2 separate regions of the Homo sapiens genome follow, and region 1 is linked to region 2. The links are contacts of gene promoters, found by promoter capture Hi-C in human tissues and cell types (Jung and others, 2019). All regions are on one chromosome and are shown on one strand. The core of a region is centred on a gene start or on the middle of the fragment in contact, and the rest is flanking DNA. Distances in the headings are between cores, read along the strand shown.

Region 1 (6,576 bases), core at 3,316-5,815, 40 kb before region 2:
GCCACAGCCCCCTGAGTAGCTGGGATTACAGGCACGCGCCACCAAACCCAGCTAATTTTTGTATTTTTAGTAGACATGGGGTTTCACCTTGTTGGCCATGATGGTCTCCATCTCCTGACCTTGTGATCTGCCCGCCCCGGCGTCCCAAAGTTCTGGGATTACAGACGTGAGCCACCACCCCCCGCCAACTTTGTTTTTTAAAACCCTGGCTTTTTGGTGAAGTTCTTACGTAGGTCAGAGTGTGACCAAAACTCTAGGCCTTAGTGGCACTCTCAATTTCCATTATTTCGGGTTTTTGTCCTTATAATGTTATTCACAGGTTATGGTGTCTTCATAGTCACATATGTCTTTGAGTTTCTGTCAGGCCAGTCAACAAGAGACTATTTAACATTCTAGAGATGACTGCATGCAAACATTTATAATTTTTGAGAGAATACGGTGCAGTAGGGATACTACAATTTTATTCATTTATTTTTTTTAGATGGAGTTTCACTCTTGTTGCCCTGGCTGGAGTGCAAAGTCACAATCTCAGCTCACTGCAACATCCGCCTCCCGGGTTCAAGTGATTCTCCTGCCTCAGCCTCCTGAGTAGCTGAGATTACAGGCATGTGCCACCACACCCAGCTAATTTTATTTTTGTATTTTTAGTAGAGATGGGGTTTCTCCATTTTGGTCAGGCTGGTCTCGAACTCACGACCTCAGGTGATCCACCCACCTCAACCTCCCAAAGTGCTAGGATTACAGGTGTGAGCCACCACGCCCGGCCTGGGAGACTACTATTTTGACTAGCAGGAGAATAATGCCAAAAGTTGAAACAGGCCAGGCACGGTGGCCTGTTTCCTAACACTTTGGGAGGCCGAGGCAGGCAGATTACCTGAGGTCAGGAGTTCAAGACCAGCCTGGCCAACATGGTGAAATTCTGTCTCTACTAAAAATACTAAAAATTAACCATGTGCAGTAATGCGTACCTATAATCCCAGCCACTCTGGAGGCTGAGGCAGGAGAATCACTTGAACCCAGGAGGTGGAGGTTGTGGTAAGCCAAGATCATGCCACTGCTCTCCAGCCTGAGCTACAGAGCAAGACTTTGTCTCAAACAAACAAACAAACAAACAAAAAAACAAAAAAAAAAAATAGTTGAAACCATGCTTCTTAGCCAAGGTCCCCATGAACAACCAACTAAAATCCAATAGATTAAATAATTAGCTAGATAATGATCTACTCATTTCAACCAAGCAGCCTGTTCATTAATCCCCTACAACTGCATCTCTGTAATACACAATGTATTCTACCATGTGCAACTACAAGTATTAGCAATTACACAAGTAGTTCTCTGTTTATCCAGTAAGTAATCAAAAGAAATTCTATTATTTAGCACAACTTTAGTTAGAACATTTAATACCTATTGTGTAACCACAGCCTTTACATTAGAATCTGCTATACAGCCCTATTTTGGGGGATAAATTCCTAACCATTGCTTCATTTATGCTAAGCCATGGAAAAAATGATCTAACAAATGATGCCCATTCAGAAGAGTAATGGCCTGCTGGCAATGCTCTTTAACCTATTCTGAAGAAGTTATTTTTGACTTATGAAGTAGGTTAAAAGCAGTGGATCAATATTCTGTTTCTGATATTATGAGGCAACAAATGTTTCTTTAAAACTTCTCACTCACATTAGCCCTTCATCTTTTACCTATCAAGGTGAAAGTTTTTTTATATATAAGTTGGCAGCAAAATTCTCTACATATAAGTATACCCCATAAAGAGATACCTTTTTTATTTCTGTTGTTCGTAGAGCCATTAGAAAACTGTGAATGAACCCTTATTGGTTGGATCCAGGTATGACAGTTATCACCATTCCTGTGAGCTGAGTTCATACACGAGTCCGCATTTGACTGGTGGCTGTATCCACATATGATAGTCACAATTCCAACTGTGAACTGTGTTCATGAGTCAGATTCAGGATTTTACCAGTGGGCTGTGTCCATGTGAGAGAGTGACAGTTATAACTGTTGCCTGGGTGTGCATATGAAAGTCACAATCTCACCTCTGTGCTGAGCCCTGTTATAATACTCTCTGTACACTTGACTGCTTTATGTAATATGAGTAAGTGATGTAATCCTTTTTGATATTCATACAATTAGGAAACCCAGGACATTACTGGTTGCCCTAATGTTGGCTATGAAAGTTACAATCTCTCCTATTAGCTGAGTCCAGGTACAAGAGTCATCTTCATCCCTGTTAGCCGGGCATAGGTATATGTCACAATTCCACCTGGGAGCAGAGACCAGGCTAGAGCATCACATCCCCTGGGCACTGGACCAGAAATATGTCACAGTTCCCCTATGGGCAGGACCCAGGCAAGAGAGTCACATCACCTAAATGCTGGGCCTAGTGAAATGTCACAATGCCCCCAGTGGGCAAGGCTCAAAAACAGAATCAGATTACCTGGATGCTCAGCCCAGTGATATGATCCAAGCTTTCCTGTGGGTAAAGCACAGGCAGAAGAAGAGAGTCACATCATCTAGGTGATGAACCCAAAGATATGTCAAAATGTCCCCTGTGAGCAAGGCTAAGGCAGGAGAGTCACATCACCCAGGTGCTAGACTCAGCAATATGTCGTAATTTGCTCTATAAGCAGGGCCTGGGCAGGAGAGGAGAGTCACATTATCTAGGTGCTGGGTCCACTTACATGTCACAATACCATCCTGTGAACACTGCCCATGCAGTAAAATCACATTATCATAATGTTGGGCACTGCAGTATGTCACCATGCCCCTGTATGCAGAAGCCAAACAGGAGAGGATATTCACTTCACCTGGGTGCTGGGCCCAGTGATATGTCACCATCCCTAATGTGGGCAGGGCCCAGACATGGGAGGAGAGTCATATCACCTAGGTGTTGGGCTCAGTGATATGCCACAATGCTCCCAGTGTGTAGGAACCAGGCAGGAGAAAAGAATCACATCACTAATGTGCTGGGCCCAGCAATATGTCAAAATCTCCTTTGAGGGCAGCACCCAGGAAAGAAAGTTACATCACCTAGATTCTTGACTCAATTCATGTCACAACACCATCTAAGGGCTTGGCCTACACAGACGAGTGGAATTACTCAAATGCTAGGCAAATAGGTCTGTAAAAATCACACATTCATGAAGCTTCTGTGGTTAGATTTATAATTCTGCACATGTCTCAGCTTTAGTTATGAGAGTCAACATCTCCTGTGAGTTATGTGCAAGTACAGGACTCACCATTTCAATGATATATCGGATCTGTGAATGAGAGTCCCAATCCCACCCAAGGACGGTGTCCTGGTATGAAAGTCACAGGCTCACCGGCATGTTGAATTCTTTCTCAAGAGTCACTACCCCACCTGTGGATGGGATCCACATATGAGAGTCACAATTTTAACTTTCGATTGCCTCTTAGTGTCAGATTCAGAACCTCAAGGTGATCAGTGTCCCTGTGGGAGGGTGACAACTTTTACATTTGGGTGGGTGTGCATATAAGAATCACAATGTCACCTCCGTGATTGGTACTGCTATGACATTCCATGTACCACTCAAAGGCTTTGTATAATATTCCTGAGAGTCACAATCTGCTCTGAGACTCTTGTGCTGTTATGACCCATGATTGTACCCTTGCCCTAAGCACAGGTATTAGAGTCAACCTCTCTCTAATTTGCTGCATCCAGGTATTAGAGTCATCATTACACCTGTCAGTTGGGTTCAGAAGTTAATTACCATCCTACCTGTGGCTAGATCCACATATACCAGTCACAATTCCAACTGTGAACAGCATTTACATGTGAGATTTGGGACCTTAACTGTAGGCTAAAAACATGTGTGTGGGTAAAAATTCTAACTATTGGCTGGGTGTGCATTTGAGAGTCAAAATTTCACCTGTGTGCTGGGCTTTGTTATGACACTCTCTGCACCAGCTGAAAGCTTTATACAATTTGCATGAGTATTGTAATTTTCTCTGACCTTTCATGCAAGTAACAGACGAAGACTTTACCTGTTGCCCAAAGCCTAGCAGACAGAATCAATATTTCTCCTGGTTTGTGGGTTGAAGTTTGTGGGTGTCATCATTGTACCAGTGACCACGTCCCAGGCATATGTCACAATCCCACCTGTAGCTAGGAACCAGGAAGAAGAGTCACATCACTTGGATGCTAGGACAGGAATATCTCAATCTGCACTATGAGCAGGATCAAGAAAGAAGAGAGTCACACCAACTGGGTTCTGGGCCTAGCGATATTCCACAGTCTTTCATGTTGCAGGTCCCAAGCAGAAGAGGACAGTCACATTACTTAGAAGATGGGCCCAGTAATATGTAACAATGCCCACTGTGGGCAAGGCCCAGGCAAGAGAGGATTGTTGCATTATCCTGGTTTCAGCAATATGTTGTAATTCCCACGGTTAGCAGGGCTTAGCAAAAGAAGTGAGTCACAAAATTTATGTGCTAGTTTAAGCAATAGTTTAAAATCCCTTCTGTTGGCAGGGGCCAGGCAGCAGAGAAGACTCAAATTACCTAGGTGCTGGGTCCAGCAACATGTCATAAGTTCTTCTGAGGGTGAGATCCAGGCATAAGCAAAGACTCATTTAACTTATGTAATTGGCCCAGAAATATGTCACAGTGTCTTATGTGGGGAGAACTATGGCAGAAGAAGTACATCACATAGGTGCTGGGCTCAGTGATATGACACAATCTTTCTTGTAGGCAAGGCCTAGGCACAAGAGGAGAGTCACATCACCCACGTGCTGGATTCAGAAATATGTCACAATTACTTCTAAGTGACAGGTTCAGGCAGATGAGAAGAGTCATATTACCTTGGTGCTTGGCCTTGGTATATGTCACAATTCCATCTATGGGCTGGGCTCAGGCAGGAAACTAAAATCACTCAGGGTATGGGCAAAGACATATGCCACAATCACACCTGCAGAAAGATTCAGGGATGAGATAAACAATCCCAAACACTTCCAGCTCTAGAGATCATAGTCAAGATCTTCTGAGTGTTTGGTCTAAGTATGCGAGTCAGAATCTCAATAGTAGACTGGATTTGTGCATGACAGCCTCAATTCTTAGACTGTGTCCTGGTAGAAGAGTCACAGCCTCACCGGTGTGTTGAATGTTGGTCCAAGATTCACTATCTCGTCTGTGGACCTGATCCTCATATGAGAGTCACAATTCTAACTTTCAGCTCCTTTGAGTTTGAGATTCAGAACCTCAACAGTGGACTGTGGCTATTTAAGAAGGTGAAAATTCTTACTGTGAACTGGGCGTGCATACCAGAGTCACTATCTCACCTGTGCACTGGGCCCTGTTACCACACTCTTGGTGACACCTGAGGGCTTTATACGGTATGCCTGAGAGCCACAACCCACTCTTGGATCTATGTGCTGGTATAAACTCATAATCTTACCCATTGTCCTAAGCCCAGGAATGAGAGCTAACATCTCTCTTATTGGCTAGATCCAGGTGTGAGAGTTCTCACTATGCCTGTGAGTTGGATACAGAAGTGAGTCACCATTTTACCTGTGGCCAGATCCAAATATAACAGTCACAATTTCAACTGTGGACTGCATCCACATGTGATATTTAGGACCAAACCAGAAGTCTTTTTCCATTTGTGAGAATGACAGCCCTCATTGTTGGCAGGGTATGCCTATGAGAATCACAATTTTTTTCTTTTTTGAGATGGAGTCTCACTCTGTTGTCCAGGCTGGAGTGCAGTGGCGCGATCTCAGCTCACTGCAAGCTTTGCCTCCCAGGTTCACGCAATTCTCCTGCCTCAGCCTCCTGAGTAGCTGGGACTACAGGCACCCACCACCACACCCAGCTAATTTTTTGTATTTTTAGTAGTGACAGCGTTTCACCATGTTAGCCAGGATGGTCTTGATCTCCTGACCTCGTGATCCGCCTGCCTCGGCCTCCCAAACTGATGGAATTACAGGCATGCGCCACTGCCCCCAGCTGAGAATCACAATTTTAACTGTGTGCTGGAAACTGTTATGACACTCTCTGTACCATTGGAAGGGATCATACAACATGCATGAGTTTTACAATCTTCTGTGACCTTCATACAAGTAGAAAGCCCAGGACCTTGCCCATTGCTTGAAGGCTACCTATAAGAGTCAACATATCTCCTATTGGCTAGGTCCAGGTAATGCAACTAATCACTGTGCCTCTGAGCTGGGTCCAGAAATCAGTCACTATTCAACCTGTTCCCAGATTTACATATGACAGTCAGAATTTTAACTGTGAACTGCATCTGCATGTGAGGTTCAGGACATCACCAGTGTGCTTCTTTCATGTTTGGAAGTGACAATCCTAATTGTTGGCTTGGTATGCCTGTGAGAAGTCACAATCTTACCTGTGTGGTAGACCCTATTATTACATTCTCTGTAGCACACAAAGTATTTCTAAAGTATGCATAATTTTTTTTGAGATGGAGTCTCGCTCTTGTCACCCAGACTGGAGTACGATGGCATGATATCAGCTCACTGCAACCTCTGCCACCCGGGTTCAAGTGATTCTCCTGCCTCAGCCTCCTGAGTAGCTGGGATTACAGAC
Region 2 (6,768 bases), core at 212-2,711:
AGAATGCTGAGTAATGCAGAAATATATGTGGACATGTATGCATGTAATTGGTGCCTATACTCACACAGTCCCCCATACCACAGGAGAAAACAGATAACCACAGCCTGACCATTAGGGCCAAGGACAAATAGAAAAGTAAGTTTTCCTTTAATCTATTTTCTTCATATCTAAACATTGGAGGTCAAGACTGTGCACAGATTTGAAGACACAGAGATTTCTTCTCCTGTGGCCTTACCATCCTTAGTTCACCTTCTGATCTCTGGAATAAAGGTAGGCAACAGGTGGCCAGCAGTGGTCTACCTGTGGTTGTTTTTTCCTGCTGTCCTGTGCTTTATTTATGGCTACTATCTGTTCCTCCCTCAGAGCTGAAGAGAGATGTTGGTAGGGAAAGGCTCTTTTTCCATCTTTGGCAGAAAAGGTTTGTTCAGGCCCTTCCCTCTCCTAAGGTCAGAGCTGCACTTCAATGTGGCAGCTACTGGCCATGTGTGGCGACTGAGTGCCTGGAATGTGGCTGGTCTGAACTGTGATGTGCTGGAAAGGTAAAATACAGAGTTAGTTTCAAAGATGAAGTTCCAAAAAATATCTACACTTCATTTATAATTTACATTTTGCTTACGTATTAAGATGATATTTTGGATATATTGGGTTAATTAAATTGCTACAATAAATTCCACCTGTTTTTTTTTTTTTTAATTTTTAAAGTTTGGCTACTAGAAAATTTAAAATACAATTTTATTTCAGAGGATTGCCTTCTTTTTAAAACCTCAGGCAATCTGATGAAAAAACCAGAAGCCAGGAAGGTCATAAACTCTGAAAATTTTAGATAATTGTTATATTCTTTTCATTTGTGAATAACCATATAATATATTATTTATAAAAGAATGTGACCTTATACAAAAGGTTAAATGCAAATACCCTCTGGGGTTGGCCTGGCTCAGTTCAGGAAGGAAGCCCTGCCTGAAAAGGCTGCAGCCTAGACTGTCATCCTTTCCTTTCTTTTTCTTTTCTTTTCTTTTTTTCGTGACAGAATCTCGCTCTGTCATCCAGGCTGGAGTGCACTGGCGCGATCTCGGCTCACTGCAACCTCCGCCTCCTGAGTTTAAGCAATTCTCGTGCCTCAGCCTCCGGAGTAGCTGGGATTACAGGCGCCCGCCACCACACCAGCCTAATTTTTATTTTTAGTAGAGACCGGGTTTTGCCATGTTGGCCAGGCTGGTCTCCAACTCCTGACCTCTGGTGATTCACCCGCCTCGGCCACCCAAAGTGCTGGGATTACACGCGTGAGCCACCGCGCCCGGCCCGTCACTCTTCATTCAGCTCAGCATCAGATCACATCTTCTGTCACTCAGGGCCTGAGGAGGCGGGGATTTAAACATTATCCAATCAGGGACTCTGGGCTGGGAACCGTCCAATCAGGCACTCAGCTGGAGCGGAAAGGGCGGCTTGTGGGATGTGGCGGGGCCGTTGTTTCTGGTTCCAGCTGGAGCTCCGGATCTCGTTTTTACTGCTCTGTGTCCTTAGCCTCTGTGGCCCTGTGACCTGTAGGTATTTGGAGATCCACAGCTAGGACGCCAGGACCCCCTGGAAGCTTAGAAATGGTGAGAGTGCCGGGTCCGATATCCTGAGAAGGGGAAGGGGCTGACTGGAACCGGTGGAAAGTGGCTGTGGCGGGACTCAGGCCTCCCCTCAGTGAGCTCCACAGTCTGCGCCCCGAGCTCTTGCCCAGCTCGGCCTCAGTCTCCTTCAGCCATAAGATGGCGGCTGCGCTGACTGCGGGACCCCGGGCGACCTGCCTCCTTCCTGCACTGTGACTATGCCCTGGCCTGGAGCCCTCTCTGGGCCGCTCTTCACCCGCAGCGCCTCCTCTCTCACAGATTGTGCAGGGACCACGGGAGGGGCGTCAGGGGAGAATCCTGACTCCGGGTGCGGGTTCATGAATGGGAAGAGCTTTGGTCCAGTGAGGTTTCCAGTCCCTCTTTTCTCCTATTAAAAATTGATGGCAGTCATCACTAAAGTAATAAAGGATTTAATCAAAGAGTGATTCAAAAATGGCAGAGCACCCAGCTGTGGTTTGTAGTTTATGGTCTATGGAAGGGATTTGACGGAAAGAGTTTTATAAGGTGCATAATGAAGAAAACCAAATTCAGTAATGGGTTATGTACAGTTACGTAGATTCTTAATTTGTACAATCAAGATGGAAATTTCCCGTTTATATAATCAGAGGTTAATTGTAGTTTATAGTTGGTTAAGCCTGAATTTTGTTTCCCCCAATGTAGTAATTTACAAAAAAAAAAGCACTTGAATTATTAATATTTTTTTCTTTCTTTTTTTGAAACGGAGTTTTGTTCTTGTTGCCCAGGCTGGAGTGCAGTGGCGCGATCTCGGCTCAACGCAACTTCCGCCTCCCAGGTTCAAGCGATTCTCCTGCCTCAGCCTCCCGAGTAGCTGGGATTACAGGCATCCGCCACCACACCCGGCTAATTTTTGTGTTTTTAGTAGAGACGAGGTTTCTCCGTTTTGGTCAGGCTGGTCTCGAACTCCCGACGTCAGGTGATCTGCCCTCCTCCGCCTCCCAGAGTGCTGGGATCACAGACATGAGCCACCGCGTCCGGCCGAATTAGATTTTTTAAAAAGTAGATTATCAGGCCTGGCTCGGTGGCTTACACCTGTAATCCCAGCACTTTGGGAGGCCGAGGCGGGTGAATCACGAAGTCAGGAGTTCTAGACCAGCCTGGCTAACATGGTAAAACTCCGTCTCTAATAAAAATACAAAAATTAGCCGGGAGTGTGGCAGATGCCTGTAATCCCAGTTTCTCGGGAGGCTGAGGCAGATAATCGCTTGAACCCGGGAGGCAGAGGTTGCTGTGAGCTGAGATTGCGCCACTGCACACCAGCCTGGGCAAGAGAGGGAGACTCCCTCTCATATTAAAAAAAAAAAAAAAAAAAAAAAGGCCAGGTGCGGTGGTTCATGCCTGTAATCCCAGCACTTTGGGAAGCCGAGGCAGGCGGATCACCTGAGGTCGGGAGTTCAAGACCAGCCTGACCAACATGGAGAAACCCCATCTCTACTAAAAATACAAAAATTAGCCAGGTGTGGTGGCACATGCCTGTACCTGTAATCCTAGCTACTCGTGGGGCTGAGGCAGGAGAATTGCTTGAACCCGGGAGATAGAGGTTGCGGTGAGCCGAGATCGCGCCATTGCAGTCCATTCTGGGCAACAAGACCGAAACTGTCTTAAAAAAAAAGAAAAAAAAAAGTAGATATCAGGCACTAGAGCCACCTCAGTCTATTTGCCTGCCACTTAATTATTTTTAATTATTTTCACACTCCTCAGATGACTGATTTTCCCCTCCATTTTTTACAGGTATCTCAAGCAGAGTATTATGTCTACTCCCAAACCCCAATTCCTGCAGCCTAACTCTGGCTTGCAATAAAATACTAAACTTCCAGTTCATAATGTCAATTTTCCCTCTCTGATTCACATTACTATTTGTCCTTAGTGTACATTTTGATACTGTATTTTATTTTTTAACAAAGCATTGGATGGTACTTTTCATAATATTTGTTTTCTGTTTGTGAATATTTCCTAAGAGAAGAAAGCAAAAAATAATCCCCTGACACTGTGTTGTAAAAAATCTTTGTGCCGCTTTTTTTTTTTCCTCCTTGCTCCACAGATTTTAGCAGAATGTTTTGGGGTAAAGGTAAAGGTTTTCCTTTGGAAACTTTATGATGTGTTTTCAGCCATTCTTCAGTTTTTTCCCTGGTCCTGGGTTTCAGTACTGTCTGGGAATTAGCTAAAATATTCCCCATGGCTATGTCTGCTAGAGTGTCTAGTGAATATCAGCTCCTGGTCATTTTCTCCAGTAGGACAACCTGAGGTGTGGAGTGTAGCCTTTCAACGAAGAAGGCAGATGCCCTGGGGTTGAGAGGTCTCTCCTGGTATACTCTTCCTTTGAAAAGCTAACCCTTGAGACATTAAGATTGTCTTCACCCAACCCAGCTTCCATTTTTTGAAGACACATTGCTGGTCAGCCAATCAGATGCTGGTATTGCGGGGAAAACACAGAAATAATTTCTGCCCCCTGCATTCTTTAAGGGAGCAGAACAATAGTGAAATATAATGAAAAAATAGTGAAAGAAAAATAGTGAGAATCTGTGAAATCAAAAATAGTGTCCCAAACGACAAAAAAAAAAAAAAAAAAAAAAAGTGACCCCAATGAGATGGTGTAAGAACTTGAAAAGTTCTTACCTGGGGCACTCACTGGGGCATAGTTCAGAGTCTCCTGAGAAGGAGTTATTGGGCACTTAAGTGAGGAGAATGGGGTGGGAGAATCTCTTAAGTGATTGGATGGCCTGACTTGACACATGAATCAGACACATCTGTACCTTGAAAAGATTTGTTCACTTATTTTGACCTCAGTTTTTTAACTGTAAATTGCATTTTGTTAGTAGGGATTGAAAGGTAAGAAAATACTTAACCAAGGGCAAAAAAGAGATGGGTTTCAGAATAAAATTAATATTGAATTGTATATTCCATTTGTTAAAAATTTTCATTTACCTTTTTCCCAGAATGACTTTAGGAATTTTCTCTGGTGTGTTTTTTATGGTTGGGTGATTTTAAACAGAATTTCAAGGCTTGACTTTTCAAATGCTACCAAGGAAGAAAAATAGGGAAAATCTCTCTTCCATTTTGGCTTTAGAAAATGCACATATTTCCACAAGAAAAGGTGGTAATTGGTGAGTTCCTTAGATTCATGAAAACATCAGTTCCTCCTTTTGCAGGGTAAATTTGTAACAGTGACTATCTCTATTCTGTATCCTATTACTTTGCTATCTGAGTTTCATGCTGAAACTTTGTACCTTCTAGAAATGTTTCCATATGACTAATTGTTTGCTACATGATTTTTTTTTTTTTTTTTGAAACAGAGTTTCATTCTTGTTGCCCAGGCTGGAGTGCAATGGCACGATCTTGGCTGACTGTAACCTCTGCCTCCCGGGTTCAAGTGATTCTCCTGCCTCAGCCTCCCGAGTAGCTGGGATTACAGATATGTGCCACCACGCCGCTAATTTTGTATTTTTAGTAGAGACGGGGGTTTCTCCATGTTGGCCATGCTGGTCTCGAACTCCCAACCTCAGGTGATCCGCCCGCCTCAGCCTCCCAAAGTGCTGGGATTACAGGCATGAGCCACCACGCCTGGCCTACTACATGATTTTTAATGGAAATAGTAAAATAATACATTTATTGTCTGAAAAGAATAGATACTTTTGTTTCTCTTATTGAGATATAAAGTGTAAGCACCTTAAAATTTCCTTCCCTTATATGAACACTGTGTTAGAGTAATTGCACTGAATTTTTCGAACACTTACTTTCAAAAACCAAGGGAATAACTCTGACATGAAGATTAAAGCCTGAGCCCAGTGACTCTAAGCTAAGGCTAATACTGAGCCTGCAAAAGGAGGTTATTAAAGGATCAGTTAGTTTTTTCTGGGGAGTCTTCTCTGCAGATATCCCAGCCTGCTCACCCCAGTCATGGAAGGAGACTTTATCCTGAGGGAAGCCACAGAACCCTGGAAAGCTGGGGACCCACAGGCAGATGCAGTTAAGGTTAAGATGAAAGGGGATTGGGAGGGTCTTACTGAAGATGAAATTGTTATTGTTTTGAGATAGTTTCTAGACTTTGTAAAATAAAACGAAGTTAGATTTATGTTGAAAAAAGAATTGAATTCCAAAAGGGTATTGCAACAGGAGGAAATACCAACTATAAGATCTTTAAGGATTGCTAAGTTTAGGCAGACAAGGGCCTTGTTTCATATGGAAGAGCAAACCATATTAGAGAGGAGGTCGGAGGGGATGGCGAATGGAGGGTGAAAGAAAGAGATTTTAGATCAGAGAATGTTTTACACTGAAGTCATCATGTACTTAGGAACTACATAAAAATAAGGTTGTATGTTGACTCAGACTGAGGGTAGCTCAAAGTTCAGAAGCCTGTTTAAATAAGTAATGTTTGATTAAGAAATATTTTAGGTTGACCACTGAAAACAAACTCAGCTGATTTATTTATTTATTTTTATTATTATTATTTTTTGAGACAGAGTCTCACTCTGTTGCTGAGGCTGGAGTGCAGTGGCACGATCTTGACTCAACTGCAACCTCCGCCTCCCGGGTTCAAGCTATTCTCCTGCCTTAGCCTCCTGAGGAGCTGGGACTACAGGCATCTGCCATCATGCCTGGCTAATTTTTGTGTTTTTAGTAGAGACCGTGTTTCACCATATTGGCCAAGCTGGTCTCGAACTCCTGACCTTTTGATCCGCCTGCCTCAGCCTCCCAAAGTGCTAGGATTACACGCATGAGCTACCGCGCCCGGCCCGATTTATTTATTTATTTTTTAATGAGAAAAAGGAGACAATGTGCAGAGTCTGTGTCTGGCTATGTGATAGGTAAGAAAAGAGAGCACCATCGAAGTCATAATGGGAAGGGTGTTTCTTTCCAGAAACTGTTCCTGGAGCACACAAAGGATAGAGAATTTTATTAATCACAGCTATTTACCAGGATTATCTATATGCTTTATCTTTCCCCACCTCTTTTCTTTCTTTTTTTTTTTTGAGATAGAGTTTTGCTCTTGTTGCCCAGGCTTGAGTGCAATGGCACAATCTTGGCTCACCACAACCTCCACTTCCTGGGTTGGAGCGATTCTCCTGCCTCAGCCTCCTGAGTAGCTGGGATTACAGGCAGGCACCACCACGCCCAGCTAATTTTTTTGTATTTT

Evidence for each region. Contacts are between HindIII fragments. The study calls those that stand out against the background at their distance.
Region 1: a fragment that was not itself captured here is called in contact with the fragment with the promoter of ZNF99 in region 2 in 4 of the 25 tissues and cell types used here (dorsolateral prefrontal cortex, liver, mesendoderm cells and 1 more).

Annotation. Positions count from the first base shown.
Region 1 is chr19:22,821,983-22,828,558 of GRCh38, reverse strand. It overlaps a transcript of ZNF723 not described here. Among named protein-coding and RNA genes, the nearest start is that of ZNF723, 7.0 kb to the left of the region's middle. The HindIII fragment of the contact is 3,491 bases long and covers 2,820-6,310 here.
Region 2 is chr19:22,778,844-22,785,611 of GRCh38, reverse strand. It overlaps ZNF99 (zinc finger protein 99), which reads left to right and starts at 1,461. Exons shown (of 4, transcript NM_001080409.3): 1 at 1,461-1,598. The coding sequence starts at 1,596. RefSeq lists an enhancer at 6,316-6,768. The HindIII fragment of the contact is 12,356 bases long and covers 1-6,364 here.